Regions from separate parts of the Homo sapiens genome. Here regions 1 and 3 are each linked to region 2. Evidence: promoter capture Hi-C in human tissues and cell types (Jung and others, 2019). All regions are on one chromosome and are shown on one strand. Each heading gives the region's core, a stretch centred on a gene start or on the middle of the fragment in contact. The rest is flanking DNA. Distances are from core to core; before and after follow the strand shown.

Region 1 (3,329 bases), core at 7-2,506, 1.8 Mb after region 2:
AGCGGTTGGGCCTGATGCAATCAAAAATTTCATCTCCAGGAAGCTCTGTTCGAGGCACATGACCTTTGTGTATATTCTCATAATTCCAGAAGTAGTACATGGTGAGTTCTAAGAGGGTTGGCCAATGTGCAAAAGCATCAGGATGAAGTGCTTTGAATCTGAGGTGCCTTGATTGTACACCAGGAGTGACGCCAGGGAATTTGGGATCTACTCAGCCCTTACCAAGCTCATACCATAAAAATCATGCAGCAACAACCATGACCTCCACTTCCTGCAACCAGCTCTGTAGAAGGCTCAGTGCGTACAATATGCCATTTAATTTTTTATGTCTTTTTTTTTTTTTCTTTTTGAGACAGGGTCTTGGCTCTATTGCCCAGGCTGGAGTGCAGTGGTGCAATCATAGCTCACTGTGGCCTCAACCTCCTGGGATCATCAAGTAATCTTCCTGCCTCAGCTTCCCATGTAGCTGGGACCACAAGTGTGCACCACCAAGCTTGGCTAATTTTTTATTTATATTTATTTATTTATTTATTTATTTTGGTAGAGACAAGGTCTCACTTTATTGCCCAGGCTGGTCTCAAACTCTGGCCTCAAGTAATCCTCCCGCCTTGCCCTCCCAAAGTGCTGGGATTACAGGCATGAACCATCATGCCCGGCTGCCATTTAATCTTCATGGCAGAGCTGAGAGGAGGGTATCATGATTCCTGTGTCACAGATGAGGATTCAGAGGCCACAAGGCCTTCGTTTTGGAGGAAGACGAAAGTCAAAGAACACAGTGAGTAGCACAGCTAGGGTGTGAACCCCAGATTTTGTGGCTCCAAAGCCTGTGCTACAAATGTTGCCTTTGTGTCCTGGGTATGACGGAGGGGGATCCAAGACAACAGATGGCACAAAGTTTGTCTGCTGAGAATTTACAGCCTACATAGAGAAGAGAGAACACACACAGGGAAAAACAACTTAAGAGATCTTATAAAGCAACATACAAGGAGGCTGGAAGTCTCTTTTCCCACTATGGAAATGCTGCATTTGCTCACACCAAGTGACTTCTCTTTGGGGGTAAAAAAATTAGTATGAAACTTGCAGGCCTATTTAAAACAACATTAGTAAGAAAAGCAGCTAATATTTAGTGTGTTTTCCTATGTAACAGACACTGATAAGTGTTCCTAGGGAAAACTGAAGGCCCATTTAGAATAATAATACTTTCTTTCATTCATCAAGCACTTCATTATATACCAGGTATTGTTCTAAGGGCTTTACATACACTATCTTACATATAGTCTCAAAATGACTTTAAGAGATCATGGAAGTATTTGTTCCATTTTACAGATGAGAGTTAACACAGAAAGGTCAAGAATGGAATTTCAAACCAGAGTTTGTGACCCATTTCTGTGTTTTGAATTTAATTCAGGAGGTCATGACAAGCATTGTTTTAAATAAACAGATGAGAGAGGAAAGACTATAGGAGGTGGGAGGGGAATGAAATGAAACAGAACATATCAGAATGCATTACATGTGGTAAGGGTATTATTTCATCCATTTTATCTGTATGTGTATGTGAGTGTAAAATGTTATAAAATGAAATGATTACAGCAGGTCTCTGTGGAAGGTCTGAAAGCCACTTTGCCAGGAGTCACATAGCCAGTGATTTGCAGCCAGGGTTCAAATCTAGATAGACTATCTCCAGAGCCCACACTCTTCACCTCTAAACCAGTGCTGTACAGTAGATATATAAAGTAAATCTACACATGTAATTAAAAATGTTCTAGTAGCCACATCTAAGAAGTTTTAAAAGCCACATTAAAAATTAACTATTAAGGCCAGGGGCTGTGGCTCATGCCTATAGTCCCAGCACTTTGGGAGGCCGAGGGGGTGGATCATGAGGTCAAGAGATTGAGGCCATCCTGGTCAACATGGTGAAACCCCGTCTCTACTAAAAATACAAAAATTAGCCGGGGGTGCTGGCGCGCACCTATAGTCTCAGCTATTTGGGAGTCTGAGGCAGAAGAATCACTCGAATCCGTGAGGCGGAGCTTGCAGTGAGCCGAGATCATGCCACTGCACTCCAGCCTGGTGACAGAGCAAGACTCTATCTCAACAAATAAATAAATATTAACTATTAAAATTAATTTTAATTATAAGAACACACGGACACATAGAGGGGAACAACACACACTGGGGCCTATCAAAGTGTACAGGGTGGGAGGAGGGAGAGGATCAGGAAAAATAACTAATGGATATTAGGCTTAATACCTGGGTGATGAAATAATCCATACAACAAACCCTAATGACACACGCTTATCTATGTAACAAACCTTCACATCCTACACATGTGCCCCTCAACTTAAAAGTTAAAAAATATTAATTTTAATACATTTTATTTCACCCATCAAAAATATTATTTCAATATGTAAAAATTAATTCTGAAATTAAATCAATAAAAAATGAGGGTTCTTTTAAACTTTTTTTGTACTAAGTTTTGGAAACTTGGTGTGTATTTTACATTTTCCGCACATCTCAATTCAGACTAGCCCACCTAAAAAAAAATGCTCAGCAGTCACAGGTAGCTAGTGACCACCACATTGGACAGTGCAGCTCTAAACTATGCTATATCGAATATCCCCTTGGGCCCAGGTCCTGGTCCTCAGATTTCACCACAGGGGAAAATTCTCTGTCATGTGTATATATATATATATATATATATATATATATATATATATATATATATTTTTTTTTTTTTTTTTTTTTTTTTTTTTGAGATGGAGTTTCACTCTTGTTGCTCAGGCTAGAGTGAGGTAGTGCAATCCTGGCTCACTACAACTTCCGCCTCCCAGGTTCAAGTGATTCTCCTTCCTCAGCCTCCCAAGTAGCTGGGATTACAGGCACCTGCTACCACGCCCGGCTAATTTCTTGTATTTTTAGTAGAGATGGGGTTTCAACATGTTGGCCAGGCTGGTCTCAAACTCCTGACCTCAGGTGATCCATCCGCCTCAGCCTCCCAAAGTGCTGGGATTACAGGCGTGAGCCACTGCGCCCAGCCTTCTCTGTCATATTTCATTCATCCCGGTTAACTCCCAGTGGCCTCCTCCTTCAAGTAGTTCCAGAATATTTAAACCCAAATGCAATGTCCATTGTTATTAGTTTCTGCTCACCTTGGCTACTTTCAGATGTCATATCTTTGCTAGGCTTTGAGGGAGAAAAGCTGGTGGGAAAGGCAACCACAGCAAAGGTGTGCTGGAACAGGGTGGGGACAAAGACCCCGGATAGTAGGAACTGTGTGAAGTGTTGGTCTCCAGTGAGTTGTTTGCAAAGCTACAGGCTCACTGGCAGCC
Region 2 (3,184 bases), core at 617-3,116:
AGGTTGCACTGAGCTGAGATTGTGACACTGCACTCCAGCCTGGGTGACAGAGTCAGGCTCTGTCTTGGAAAAAAAAAAAATTAAAAATGCCTTGGTTGCCTTAGCCACATTTCAAGTGCTCAATAGTCATATGTGGCTAGTGGCTGCTGTAGTGCACGACACTCACACAGAATAACTCTGTAACCAATATTCTACTGGAGACAGAATCGATCCTATGGAATTCAAATTCAAATCCTATGGAATTGTACAGTTATGTAACATCTCAGAGCACTGGCTCCACATCCCTGTCTTGGCTCTCTGTGGCTCATCAGTTCCAGAATAACTCCGTTACCAGAATAACTCCATTACTAAAATTCTACCGGGCAGCACTCTATAGGAGGGAATAGAGACAGACACCACATATATTGCACACACAGATAAAATGGATTAAGGAAAACAAGATAATAATAGTGAGAGGGACTGGTTGGCTACTTTAGATTGAAGGACCTGTGAAAAATGTCCAGGGAGGTCATATTTAAGCCGGGATAAAAATGAAAAGGAAAAAAGTGAAAATGGTGGGGCTGGGGAGCTAGATGGAGAACACAGCCACGGAAAAGGCCTTAGGGTTGAGGCAAGTTGGAAAGAAAGCTCTAGTAGCTGGGGCTGAGTCAGCAGGGGAGAGAGTGGTAGAAGAAATCTATGGGGTAGGTCAGGGCCAGACCACCAGGGCTTCAGTAATTTGAGTAAAGATTTAGGAATTATTATTATTATTATTATTATTATTTTTCTGAGAGAGTTATGAGAGGGTTATAAGTGGGGGAATGATGTAGTCTGATTATATATTTACCTTTACCTCACTTATCCTGATTTCATTAGTTGCTTACTTACCCATGTCCCTGCCCGATTGCACAAGTCTGGATTTTTGACGTCCCTAGTATATTGAGTCATGTCCCATCAGCTCAATATGTTAGTAATAACTGGTTGAATTGAATTAGCTTTTTTTTTTCAATCTTTTTTTCCTTAAGAAACAGGGTCTTGCTCTGTCACCCCGGCTGGTGTGCAGTGGCACAATCATAGCCTCCAACTGCTGGGCTCAAGCAACCCTCCTGCCTCAGCCTCCTGAGTAGCTGGGACTACGGTCAGGTACACAAGGCCTGACTATATTTTTTGTTCGTTTTTTTTGCAGAGAGGGAGTCTTGCTATGTTGCCCAGGTTGGTCTCAAACTCCTTACCTCAGGTGATCCACTTGCCTTGGCCTCCCAAAGTGTTGGGATTACAGGCGTGAGCCACTGTGCCTGGCAAGAAATGAATTTTTATTTTTATTTTTGAGATGGAGTTTTGTTCTTGTTGTCCAGGCTAGAGTGCAATGGCTTGATCTCGGCTCACTGCAACCTCCACCTTCCAGGTTCAAGCAATTCTTCTACCTCAGCCTCCTAAGTAGCTGGGATTACAGGCGCCCGCCACCACCCCCAGCTAATTTTTGTATTTTTAGTAGAGTCGGGGTTTCACCGTGTTAGCCAGGCTGGTCTTGAACTCCCGACCTCAGGTGACTGGCCTACTCGGCCTCCCAAAGTGCTGGGGTTACAGGCACGAGCCACCATGCCCGGTCAAGAAATGAATTTTTAAACGCTGCCATACAAAACACTATGCTGAGATCATCCACTTCCCCATGAACCCTGTCATGAGCTGCAAGATACAGACCACCACTGCCTCCTTGGAAGTTACTGAATTCTTAGACCAGAAGAGGAGTTAATGAAGTACTAGGCAAGCTTACTCATGTTTGTATGGTTTAATGATTAACAGCAGAAGTCAACAGCCCGATTTAACGCATGTGGGTGCTTGACACAGAGCCTGCTATATAGTATTCTCCAAAAACCTCAGCTAGTGCTATTACTGCATATGATGTAGGTTTAGTTTTCCAAGTTCTTCCGTGGCCCTTTTTGCTTATTATATCAATCCTTGGTGGGAGATAGAGGAAGCATTTTTAGTGCTATTTTACAACTGAGGAAATAGAGGTTTGAAGAGAACTCAGGAACTCTCAGGGTTACCCAGCATTGTGAGTGACAGAGCCTGGATCTGAACGTAAGTCTGCTCCAGACTTCTGTTTCCTGAAGCATTCTCTTGAAGTCCCTTGGTAAGGAGGTGTAGTCTGAAGCATGTTGTACAGGAGCATGAAAGGTTAGGCACAGTGATTCACATTCACTCTCAATTTCTCTTGCTAATGGCAAACTTGGCAATATGACTGTTAAGGCTAGGGATAAGTCGTTGTGGCCACTGAGTAGGAAAAGCTCCACGTCCACCAGAGGCCCAGTTTACTCTGAAAAGCAAGTGCATCTCTGCCACTGGAAGGCTGGCATTTGCTCTCGTGCTGCCATTGAGCCACGCTGGTTCTCTGCTTCCAGTTTCCTTTTCTTTTCTTTTTTTTTGTTTTGTTTTTTGAGACGGAGTCTTGCTCTGTCGCCCAGGCTGGAGTGCAGTGGCGCGATCTCGGCTCACCGCAAGCTCCGCCTCCCGCGGGTTCACGCCATTCTCCTGCCTCAGCCTCCCGAGTAGCTGGGACTACAGGCGCCAGTGACCACGCCCGGCTAATTTTTTGTATTTTTAGTAGAGACGGGGTTTCACCCTTTTAGCCAGGATGGTCTCGATCTCCTGACTTCGTGATCTGCCCGCCTTGGCCTCCCAAAGTGCTAGGATTACAGGTTTGAGCCACCGCGCCCGGCCCTGTTTCCTTTTTGTTTGTTCCCCTGATACCCTGTATCAGGACCAGGAGTCAGTTTGGCGGTTATGTGTGGGGAAGAAGCTGGGAAGTCAGGGGCTGTTTCTGTGGACAGCTTTCCCTGTCCTTTGGAAGGCACAGAGCTCTCAGCTGCAGGGAACTAACAGAGCTCTGAAGCCGTTATATGTGGTCTTCTCTCATTTCCAGCAGAGCAGGCTCATATGAATCAACCAACTGGGTGAAAAGATAAGTTGCAATCTGAGATTTAAGACTTGATCAGATACCATCTGGTGGAGGGTACCAACCAGCCTGTCTGCTCATTTTCCTTCAGGCTGATCCCATAATGCATCCTCAAGTGGTCATCTTAAGCCTCATCCTACATCTGGCAGGTAAGTGAGTAGGTGCCCTGGGCGGGAAGAAGGGAGTAGAGGGGGGTTAGAAGCCAGAGAATGGGGTAGGGGAAGGGGAGGGGATGGTGGTGGTGGATTA
Region 3 (2,939 bases), core at 146-2,645, 1.8 Mb after region 2:
CCAGCAAAGTACCATCATCATTCCTCACAGAACTAGAAAAATCATTCCTAAAATTCATATGGAACCAAAAAAGACCCCACATAGCTGAAGAAAGACTAAGCAAAAAGAAAAAATTTGGAGACATCACATTACCTGACTTCAAACTATACTACAAGCCTACAGTTATCAAAACAGCACCGTACTGGTATAAAAATAGGCATGTAAACCAATGGAACAGAATAGAGAACCCAGAAATAAAGCCAAATACTTACAGCCAACTGATCTTCGACAAAACAAACAAAAACATAAAGTGGGGAAAGGACACCCTATTCAACAAATGATGCTGGGATAACTGGCAAGCCACGTGTAGAAGAGTAAAACCGGATCCTCATCTCTCACCTTATATAAAAATCAACTCAAGATAGATCAAAGAGCCAAATCTAAGACCTGAAACCATAAAAATTCCAGAAGACAACATTGGTAAAACTCTTCTAGACATTGGCTTAGCCAAAGAGTTCATGACCAAGAACTCAAAAGCAAATGCAACTACAACAAAAAAATTGATGGGACCTAATTAAAGTAAAAAGCTTCTGCACAGCAAAAGAAATAATCAGCAGAGTAAACGGACAACCCACAGAGTGGGAGAAAATATTCACAAACTATGCATCCAACAAAGAACTAATATCAAAAACTCAAGTCAGCAAGAAAAAAAACAAAGAATCCCATCAGAAGGTGACCTAAGAACATGAATAGACAATTCCCAAAAGAAGACACACAAGTGGCCAGCAAACATATGAAAAAATGCTTAACATCATTAATTATCAGGTAAATGCAAATTAAGATCACAATGAGATACCACCTTACTCCTGCAAGAATGGCAATAATTTAAAAATCAAAAAATAATAGATGTTGATATGGATGTGGTGAGAAAAGAACACTTTTACACTGCTGGTGGGAATGTAAACTAGTACAACCACTATGGAAAACAGTATAGAGAGTTCTTAAAGAACTAAAAGTAGAACTACCATTTGACCCAGCAATCCCACTACTGGGTATCTACCCAGAAGAAAAGAAGTCATTATATGAAAAAGACACTTGCACACATGTTTATAGCAGCACAATTCACAATTGCAAAAATGTGGAACCAGCCTAAGTGCCCATCAGCCAATGAGTGGATAAAGAAAATATGGTAAATATACCTCATGGAATACTACTCAGCCATAAAAAGGAATGAAATAATGGCATTCTCGGCAACTTGGATGGAGTTGGAAACCATTATTCTAAATGAAGTAATTCAGGAATGGAAAACCAAATATTGTATGTTCTCACTTATAAGTGGGAGCTAAACTATGAGGACACAAAGGCATAAGAATGATATAATGGACTTTGGGGACATGGGGGGAAAGGAGTGCAAAGGATAAAAGACTAGCATTGGGTACAGGGTACACTGCTCAGGTGACAGGTGGACCAAAATCTCAGTAATTCCTACTAAAAAATCTTATCCAAATAACCAAAAACCACCCATTCTCCAAAAACTACTGAAATAAATAAAATAAAATAAATCCATGAAATAGTAAAAAAAAAAAAAAAATGCAGACATGTCAGCCCCCATCCCCAGAGCTTCTGATTCAGTAGGTCTGACGTGGGCCCAAGGTATCCACATTTTGGGCCATGCATTGGGACCTACTACCCTAAGATCTTGCTCTCAAGTTCAGTATCTAGTGAAGCATTATTTTCTGAATGAATCTTTTCAATAATATCTAAATAAAGATACAGTATCATAAAAGCCTCTTCTCCCAAACACTAAAAATTCTGTTAAAATCTCCAGATACAATTATGACAGCAAGGGCCCCTGATGTTTCCAGGTGGCCTGGGATGACTACTGAGGTTTGTACACAAAGAAACAGCCTCCCTCTGCTAGGGAAGGTCAAGTCCCCTCCCCCTGCACTGGCTGGCTAACAGCCAACAGGCCCAGTGACCCTACTCAATAATGGAAATCTCTCATTCATTTCCCCCTACCTTTTCCCTGAAGTTTTCTCCCTTTTTATTCTCCTCTTCATTTCCTGTCCCTCTTCTCTTTATCCAGTAATAATGAGAATAGCTACTGTTTATGGAGCATCTATTTCATGGGCACCACACTAAGAATGTGACAGACTCCATCTCATTTAGTCCCCATAGTTGCTAATGATTTTAACCTCATTTTCCAGATGAGAGAAAAATGTCACCTTGCTCAGGGTCACACAGCCAGTGCCTGGCAAGCTATGCCCTAACCCCAAAAGTCCTCATCCTCAAAGCCCATTCCTTTGTCCCCTGTACTCTTCTTTCTTTTCCAGCCCTTCTATGTCCTCTCTTCCACTTTATCTTGTTTTTGTGTCTCTTCTCACCCTTTCATCCCCTCTCTACCAGTCTTGGAACTGAATTCACTGCTGTAGGTAACAGTGCCAGCTCAGAGCTTAGACTTACAGGTGCTTTTAACACAATAACATGAGACAAAGAAGAAATCCCCATGTGGAAAACTTGAAGAGTTTTGGCTCGTAGGCATGATTCCAACTCTCCTATAGGGTCAAGTACTCAGTACTATTCCAAGTGATACTGGAGACCAAGAATGCTCCATAGAACTAAAAATTGACATGATACTCATTTGCTTAACCCACATGTTTTAAGCGCTATATATTTCACCCAGGTCCTAAGCAGGCTGTCTACCTGTCTTCCACACCAAGAGCCACTGAGGCCTGCACGTACTAGATAGATGCTCCTCAAATATCTATGGAGTATACTAATGCATGAATGCATGAGTGGAATGTGTGCCAGGTTCTATGCTACATACCATAGATGAAGCAAAAATATACATAAGTGTTCTCTTCCTGTAGCAGAAGAAGGAGGGTGTAGACAGGAGCAGGGACAGGGGTTGGGGAGAGAGACAGGAACAGGGACAGGAGCTGGATGGGGTTGGAGTAAAA

Evidence for each region. Contacts are between HindIII fragments. The study calls those that stand out against the background at their distance.
Region 1: a contact is called between a fragment that was not itself captured here and the fragment with the promoter of HAVCR1 in region 2, in 1 of the 25 tissues and cell types used here (dorsolateral prefrontal cortex).
Region 3: a fragment that was not itself captured here is called in contact with the fragment with the promoter of HAVCR1 in region 2 in 1 of the 25 tissues and cell types used here (dorsolateral prefrontal cortex).

What each region holds. Positions count from the first base shown.
Region 1 is chr5:155,299,870-155,303,198 of GRCh38, reverse strand. No RefSeq gene overlaps it. Among named protein-coding and RNA genes, the nearest start is that of KIF4B, 290 kb to the right of the region's middle. The HindIII fragment of the contact is 6,985 bases long and covers 1-3,329 here.
Region 2 is chr5:157,057,798-157,060,981 of GRCh38, reverse strand. It overlaps HAVCR1 (hepatitis A virus cellular receptor 1), which reads left to right and starts at 1,866. Exons shown (of 9, transcript NM_001173393.3): 1 at 1,866-2,061; 2 at 3,027-3,084. The coding sequence starts at 3,039. The HindIII fragment of the contact is 13,602 bases long and covers 1-3,184 here.
Region 3 is chr5:155,240,371-155,243,309 of GRCh38, reverse strand. No RefSeq gene overlaps it. Among named protein-coding and RNA genes, the nearest start is that of KIF4B, 230 kb to the right of the region's middle. The HindIII fragment of the contact is 5,305 bases long and covers 1-2,939 here.